Linked DNA regions of Homo sapiens: all the other regions are linked to region 3. The links are contacts of gene promoters, found by promoter capture Hi-C in blood cells and fetal thymus (Javierre and others, 2016). All regions are on one chromosome and are shown on one strand. Each heading gives the region's core, a stretch centred on a gene start or on the middle of the fragment in contact. The rest is flanking DNA. Distances are from core to core; before and after follow the strand shown.

Region 1 (2,700 bases), core at 171-2,670, 460 kb before region 3:
TGGCTCTGCATGGCTGATGTACAATCCCCAGAGTGAAAAGAAAACTTGAGTAAAATATTGAGTCTCTAAGGAACTAAAGGCAGATTATGGTCCAGGGTGGAAATACAATTCCCCCGTTTTCCTGTTACTCTTAAAATCTGTTTCCTGGGGAAGAGACTGAGCAAGCTTCTATCCTCTTTAGAACAACTTGTATTATTATCATTAAACTCATAGTAAGTCTTCTGGTGTCTCATTAAATGGCATATATGATAACAATAAAGACTTTATTTTTTCTGATGCTTGAGAGGATTCAAAGCAATAATAATAAATTAGATGATCTGTAGTTCAGAAAAAATTTCAGAACATACTGGAAATAGAGTTTGGGCTGCACCTTCTTAGAAGCAAAAAACCCAAAGCCTCAGACCCTGAAATTGCCCTTCCAGGACCACTGGGTAAGTAATCAACAGTACGCACCAAGGTTGTCTGGCATGAGAGGGTGTATTTCTGAATTCTATTTATATTACTGTCTTGCTTTGAAACGGAATTACAGGGATATAACATATTGCCTTTTATTTTACACCTTGTCAGTCTTGAGATTCAAGTGCAACTGATGTAAGAATCTATTTAAAGTGGGAGCTGGGAATGTTCAGAGAAAACAGAGAAAGCGGTGGATGCGGTATTTTGGTCAGTAATTCCCTCTCCATGAATGAAAATCTACCTCTTCTAGATTTATGGCTTTTTCTGTGACTTGGAGTAGTAATATAACCTTTTCTAGACTTGGTTCCCCTACCTGTGTATTAGAAACAAGATTCTTTCTCCCTCCCACACCACAGTCTAATCTGCATTGGAGATGGGCACCAGGTCGCAAAGGTCTCTGCTTCCAATTTTAACGGTGAGGGAGGACTCAAGTGAATGAAGAAATAATGAGATGAGGGAAGGATGATTCTGTCCCCATTCATCCTTTTTCTCCCTTATTCTATCACTTCTTAAGAGTTACGTTTGCATATGGGAGAACCAGCCTTCACTCCATAGGCTAAGTTGGTGCTATATCTGGTTTAGTAAGATTCTACCATGGGTAAGTCAATGTCACTCAGTAACATAGTAGTGGTAAAGGCAGATTCTGTGGGTCCACATCAGTCTAGTTTCAGACAATCTCAACAATATTCCAAGGTGTGGGAGAAAACACCATGGGAAGTTCTGGGTTGTCCTCTTATGCAACCCTTTTCTCCTGTGTCCATAGATTCCCTTAGAGTAGAATGGCTCCTGGAAATGGCTCTTTGATGAATGAATTCATTCTGGTGGGGTTAACAGACTAGCCAGATCTTTAACTCCCTCTGTTCTTCATGTTTCTTGTAATGTATGTTGTCACTGTGATAAGAAACTTTGTCTTGGTAATTCTAACTATGCGAAATTCACGTCTTCACACTCCCAAGTACTTTTTCCTTTCTAAATTGTTCTTCACAGACCTCTGTTATTCTTCTGTGTTTATACTCCAACTTCCGAGGAAGTGTATTTCAGAGGAGAATGTTATCTCCTACATGGTTTGCATGATCTAGCTTTTCTTTTTCTTTTTCTGTTTTTTTTTTTTTTTAATTTATTTCTGAATGTTATATGCTGACGTCAATGGCCTATGATTGCTGTGTGGCCATCTGTTACCCACTTCTTTATCACATTGCCATGTCCCCTAAAGTGTGTTTCAGCCTTATGCTTGGTTCCTACTTCCTATCCTTTTCTGGGGCCATGGCCCACACTGGATGCATGCTGAGGCTGACCTGTGATGCAAACACCATCAATCATTACTTCCGTGACATCCTCCCTGTGTTCCAGCTCTCCTGCACCAGCACCTACATCAATGAACTGGTGGTTTTCATTGTGGCAGGCATCAATACCATTGTGCCCACTGTCACCGTCTTTATCTCTTATGGTGACATCCTCTCCAGGATCCTCCACATCAGTTCCAATGAGGGAAGGTCCAAAGCCTTCAGCACTTGCAGTTCCCACATAATTGCTGTTTCTCTGTTCTTTGGATTAAGTGCATTTATGTATCTCAAACCATCTTCTGCTGGGTCTATGGATGAGGGAAAATTCTCTTCTGTTTTTTATATGAATGGGCTTCCCATGATGAGCTCCTTAATCTACAGCTTAAGGAGGAAAGATGTTAAATTTGCCATGGGAAAATCTCTGAGTAGGAGAATGTTTTTGCCATAAACAACATTTCTCTGTGTATGTAGTTACAGGATGGGGATTCTCTGTATTTTATTATAATAATTGAGGAGGAAATAATTTTTCCTATTTGTTATCATGATGATGGTTAGTTGAGTATCATCCTGTCAATTTGTCTCCAATTTTTTATAGTAGATTTTTCCCCTCACCCTTTGCACATCTTTCCCCTTTTCATCATTTTTCCTGTGTAATAATAAAGAAAGTTTTTCTCTTTTTCCATTGTCATTATGGACTTCCTTTTTTCTTCTAGAAAAGATGATTGGTTTTTCAAATGATCAAGTAAAGTAAAATTAGGATAACAATGTTCCGCTGCATGTAAGAGCCTGACAACCTGTCTCTACTCGTCTTTCCATCCTCCACTGGGCAGCATCATGCATCCTTTAAACGTCAGCGTTTTCCAGACAGACAAGGTTCAACAAGACTTAACAAATACAGCCCACTTTGCAGTTTTAAATACTACACATGAAGCTTCTTTTGGCATTAATTTTACGTTTACCT
Region 2 (2,700 bases), core at 123-2,622, 420 kb before region 3:
CTTTTTGGCTAATTCAGTCATTTGGTAGAATATTTTTCCAAGTAAGGCTAAAAATCTAGAATTCCTGAACTTCCCGTAACAGGGCTTGTTAGAGTTGCATTCTGGTAACTCTGATTCTCTTTCTCTTAGAGTATTCTCTAATTCCCCTAATTCAGAAACATGGCTGTCTTCTCAAGTGCTCTTGGAGATAACACCCCACCTGTCAGCTTTTAAATCGATATACATATTGAGTACCCTTAAAACACTGTAGAAGCAAATTTTTATAAATTTTTGTTTGTGATCATAAAAATATGTTTTTATGCAAAATAAAAGCAAACAACATCTCACTCTATGTATGGAGTTTTTCCTCCCTTGACATTTTTTCTCACTTTGGAAAAAAATTATGAAACCTGATGTCTTAGGTAATATACAGTGTTTCAGCTGAAAGCAACACACCCTGAATCCTTTGCTTAAACTTTAGGGGAAACGAAGTCAGGGAATAAGAAATCTCCAGTTCAGATCTCACAGCTTTGAAAGAGAAAGGTCAGTGAGAGTTTGGCCATGAATAATGGATAGCAGGAAAGGGCCAAGGAGGGAAGCGCTGAGTTGCTGATGGTTCAGGTCTTACACCTGAAAGTCAGCCTTACTTCTTTGCTTCTTTGCTGTTTCTGGAACAGGAAAGATCTAAACTAGAATCTCAGGATAGCCCTTGGCACAACATTTCTGTCAACCACATCCACACTGAGTACAAGAATCTCCTGGCCCACTCAAGTTTTCCATTCAAAGAACAGAAGTGAGCTAATGAGGGTCAGAATTGATTAGAACCATTTCCATACTTTTTTTTTTTGTACTAAGGTCTCTTTATAGACGTCTTTTATGTTTCTTATTTCCTAGTTTTAGCAAATGCTAATTATGTTGATTCATGTTGATGGGTAAGGAAACTGAAATGGACTACTTTTATATCATCAGAGCTGGATTAGAAGCCATGTTGTAACAAAGTCTGAAGGTTCTATTGGCATATGCTCAGATAAAGAAGGTAAGCAGTGTTGTTTTAATGGTAGCAATGACAAACTAATTAGATTTGGAAAGTTTGTGCTTCCTCCAGCAGTGAGGTAATTATGGGCATAAGCCTGGAAACAAAATGGGAGGACTCTTACTAAAAGAGGAGCATTCAACAGGGTTTTGGGTGAAATCAAGGTTCTTGGTTATACTCATAATATTTGCCCTTGATCTTGTAAGAGGTCCCTGAAAAGAGGCAATCATGGGACAGATGAGGCTCTCAGGAATGGAAGCAACCAACATGGGGCATGTCATTCTGCTTTGGGAATCAGAAAATAAATCTAATGTCTCTCTTTTCTCTTATTTCTTATTACACATAATACCTTAAAAGACATGGCTACTTCAAACCATTCTTCAGGGGCTGAGTTTATCCTGGCAGGCTTGACACAACGCCCAGAACTTCAACTGCCACTCTTCCTCCTGTTCCTTGGAATATATGTGGTCACAGTGGTGGGGAACCTGGGCATGATCTTCTTAATTGCTCTCAGTTCTCAACTTTACCCTCCAGTGTATTATTTTCTCAGTCATTTGTCTTTCATTGATCTCTGCTACTCCTCTGTCATTACCCCTAAGATGCTGGTGAACTTTGTTCCAGAGGAGAACATTATCTCCTTTCTGGAATGCATTACTCAACTTTATTTCTTCCTTATTTTTGTAATTGCAGAAGGCTACCTTCTGACAGCCATGGAATATGACCGTTATGTTGCTATCTGTCGCCCACTGCTTTACAATATTGTCATGTCCCACAGGGTCTGTTCCATAATGATGGCTGTGGTATACTCACTGGGTTTTCTGTGGGCCACAGTCCATACTACCCGCATGTCAGTGTTGTCATTCTGTAGGTCTCATACGGTCAGTCATTATTTTTGTGATATTCTCCCCTTATTGACTCTGTCTTGCTCCAGCACCCACATCAATGAGATTCTGCTGTTCATTATTGGAGGAGTTAATACCTTAGCAACTACACTGGCGGTCCTTATCTCTTATGCTTTCATTTTCTCTAGTATCCTTGGTATTCATTCCACTGAGGGGCAATCCAAAGCCTTTGGCACTTGTAGCTCCCATCTCTTGGCTGTGGGCATCTTTTTTGGGTCTATAACATTCATGTATTTCAAGCCCCCTTCCAGCACTACTATGGAAAAAGAGAAGGTGTCTTCTGTGTTCTACATCACAATAATCCCCATGCTGAATCCTCTAATCTATAGCCTGAGGAACAAGGATGTGAAAAATGCACTGAAGAAGATGACTAGGGGAAGGCAGTCATCCTGACAAAGAGGGTTCTCATTGGCAGCCAGAAAAAATAAACCATATAAAAAGTTGTTATAGGATCTTTGTAAGTTTCTGTCTCTCTCGGAGAGAGAAAAATTATCATCACTTAAAAATGTATATTTTATATTAGAGAATGATTAAGACATTTTTGGAGATTATGAAACAAAATTTTCTGATGGTCAATATAATCTTCGAAAATGTATTAGAGAAATGGGAGATGACAGAAGAGGAAGGGCAAATAAACATTAAAAACAATTTATTGAACATATTACTTTTGAAAGCCCAGGCTGGTCTTGAACTTCTGGCCTCAAGTAATCCTCCAAACTTGGCCTCCCAATGTGCTGGAATTAGAAGCCTGAGTCACGATCCTCAGCCTTGAAATAGTTGATTTAA
Region 3 (2,700 bases), core at 21-2,520:
ATTGCCCAATAGACATATAATGCAGACACACGGGCAATTTAAAACATCCTAGAAGTTCATTTTGTAAAAAGTCAGAATAAAAAGATAAAATACATTTTACTAGTATGTTTTGTTTAACTCAGTTCAGTCCTTGATATCCATAGGAGACTGGTTCCTGGACCCCTTCAGATACCAAAATCCCTGAATGCTCAAGTCCCTGATTTAAAATGGTGTCGTATTTTTATGTAACCTAACTAAGCACATCCTTTTGTATACTTTAAATCATCTCTAGATTACTTATAATACCTAATATAATGTAAATGCTAAGTAAATATTTCTTTTAGTATATTGTTCAGGGAATAACAAGAAAAATGTCTGTACATATTCAGTACAGATATAACCACCCATTAAAAAAAAATCTTCCATCTGCCATTGGTTGAATCCACAGATGTGGAACCCACAGACACACAGGCCAACTGTACATGCAAAATGATGTACATGTACATCATTTCAACATATAATTCATATTTTAAAAATAATGAGATATTTTACATTATTTTATTATACAAATCTTTGAAATCCATAGTGTATTTTATACCCGGCCAGATTTCAAATGCTCAGTAGCCACCTATGGCTAGTGGCTATATTACTGGACAACAGAAGTCTAGAATGTGATCTTTTTCCCTAAATCTTTCAAATCTGAATTGTCCCCTTTTAAAGAAAGAAACCATTAGTACAGAGGTAACAGAAAGACCATGAACCCTGAGTTATAAGATGCAGTATCATTTTCATTTCTAAGATTTACAGTGCAACCTTTGACTCATAAAGTCTCTCTGAACTTCATATTTTAATCTGTAAAAAATAATAAATACTTCAAAAGATTGTTATGCAAATCAAATGAGACAATAACTGTGAATGTATTTTACATATTATAAGGTTCACATAAATATATTTGTAAATATATTTTTAAAGCAGGTGATTTCACAGATTAATTCATATATTAGACACAAGATACTTAGGTAAGGTGACTGGACAATGCATAAATGAGTCTGAGATGGATGCCTATGGCCTCTTCCCTAAACTTCTGTGACTCAGTGGCCTCAAACATGCAGCTCGAGAACCCATGGGGACAATCGGGAATTGATTTCAGAACACATTTTAATATACTTATAATATGAACATCATAATTCTGAAGCTCACCTTTTTCCTCCTGAAGACTGTAGGTGAGTATCTCTTCTTTCTCCTAACCTCATCACTTCAGGAGTAGAGATGGATTGATTTTACCTTCTTCTTTAAGTGTCTGAGTGACAACAGCTAACAAGAAGCTATGACTTTTATTCTCAGTTCAGGTATTTTGTGTCAAGAAATATAAAGACCAGTAGTCCCAAGGGTTTCTTGTCTCCTGAGGTACAGCAGCCTATGTATTTGTAAGAACTATCCATGAACTGGCCTATCATTTTGGGAATCTAACATGGATTAGTCACACTAATGCCCCTTGCCATTCAGTCGGGGAAGATACATGGTCTAACACATGGCTTGCATTTTAAAATGTTGAACAAATGAGGCATCATAGACAGTGCTTGGTATAATAAGCAGTAGGTAGACTTTGAGGTCAGAGATGGAACAGGTCATTACTGTCTAGAGCGATAAGGACGATCTTCATGGAAAGGTAGATTGTAAAATATGCCTTCAAAGGTGGGGAGGATCCATTTAAGCTGAGAGGATATGAAAGAATATTCAAGACGTAGATAAAGGCATAAGCAAAGGAACTGAGAAGTAGAAAACCTAAGGAATATGTGAAGAACACTGGGAATAGCTGAAGTGTTTCTTGGATGAAAGCAGTAGATTCAGTGTTTCTAGTGTCTGCTAATGATGGAAGAAGAGTCAGAGGAATGAGTCTGAGTCCAGCCCTCCAGTCTGTTCTAATGGCTTTCCAGGACATCTGGAAGAATGTGCCTGGTGATCCTTGGGTGAGCCTTTTGTGGCTCTGTTAAAATAACACATGCACTTAAAGCCTCCACATTTTCAGGGGCAAACAGCTATATTCAGATCTGCCTTTGGGGAAAACTGTGACACCACTTCAGATTATCTCATAATCAATAGTGTCTACCATGTCAAAGACACTAAATTTCTGGAGATGGAGCCAGGATAAATAAAGCATGGTCCTTCCCCCATTCATATTGGATGGTTATTAAAACATGTTTTAATGTCAATTTATTTCCTTGGGAAAAGTGCTTTGGTACCATTCCTATTCCCTTAACTATTCTCCCAGTGTACTGACCTCTGCTTTAACATTGTCCCCCCATACATGTATTTGTGCCTGTCTTCCCTGCTCTTTGGGAATTGCCCCCCCGCCGTTGAGACAAGGGACAATTTCTCATTCATTAGGGCCTATCGCAATGACCGGCTTAGAGTAGAATTTACTTTTTTCAGCATCATCCTCATTCCTACCCAGCATCTAGTTCAATCAGAACACTTTGTTCTCTCCTGTCTAGAAGATCGTGATCTGAAATGCTGATTAAAATAGGCCAACTTACAGGAGAGGATTTTCACTTACTAGATAAATAACAAAATGAGATCAATTCTTAACCAGGGGAAATCAGTCATGAATGAGGAAGCTTATGGTATTAGAAGAGCAGATATGTAACACACAATATTCTTGCTTATTCTTAAAATCAAATATTATAAATAACCATCAATCCTACTTATACTTGTCCAAGC

The links. Contacts are between HindIII fragments. The CHiCAGO score rates a contact against its expected background, and 5 or more counts as called.
Region 1: a fragment that was not itself captured here is called in contact with the fragment with the promoter of OR8D4 in region 3 in 1 of 17 cell types (erythroblasts); the score reaches 5.5 in erythroblasts.
Region 2: a contact is called between the fragment with the promoter of OR8D2 here and the fragment with the promoter of OR8D4 in region 3, in 4 of 17 cell types (activated CD4 T cells, monocytes, erythroblasts and 1 more). The highest score is 6.8, in activated CD4 T cells.

Annotation. Positions count from the first base shown.
Region 1 is chr11:124,357,035-124,359,734 of GRCh38, reverse strand. It overlaps the pseudogene OR8B5P. Among named protein-coding and RNA genes, the nearest start is that of OR8B2, 26 kb to the left of the region's middle. The HindIII fragment of the contact is 2,505 bases long and covers 168-2,672 here.
Region 2 is chr11:124,318,869-124,321,568 of GRCh38, reverse strand. OR8D2 (olfactory receptor family 8 subfamily D member 2) reads left to right here and starts at 1,372. Exons shown (of 1, transcript NM_001002918.1): 1 at 1,372-2,307. The coding sequence starts at 1,372. The coding sequence ends at 2,307. The region is part of intron 2 of LOC112268069 (a long non-coding RNA gene); the gene reads right to left. The HindIII fragment of the contact is 6,670 bases long and covers 1-2,700 here.
Region 3 is chr11:123,900,737-123,903,436 of GRCh38, reverse strand. It overlaps OR8D4 (olfactory receptor family 8 subfamily D member 4), which reads right to left and starts at 1,270. Exons shown (of 2, transcript NM_001005197.2): 1 at 1,180-1,270. The HindIII fragment of the contact is 7,569 bases long and covers 1-2,599 here.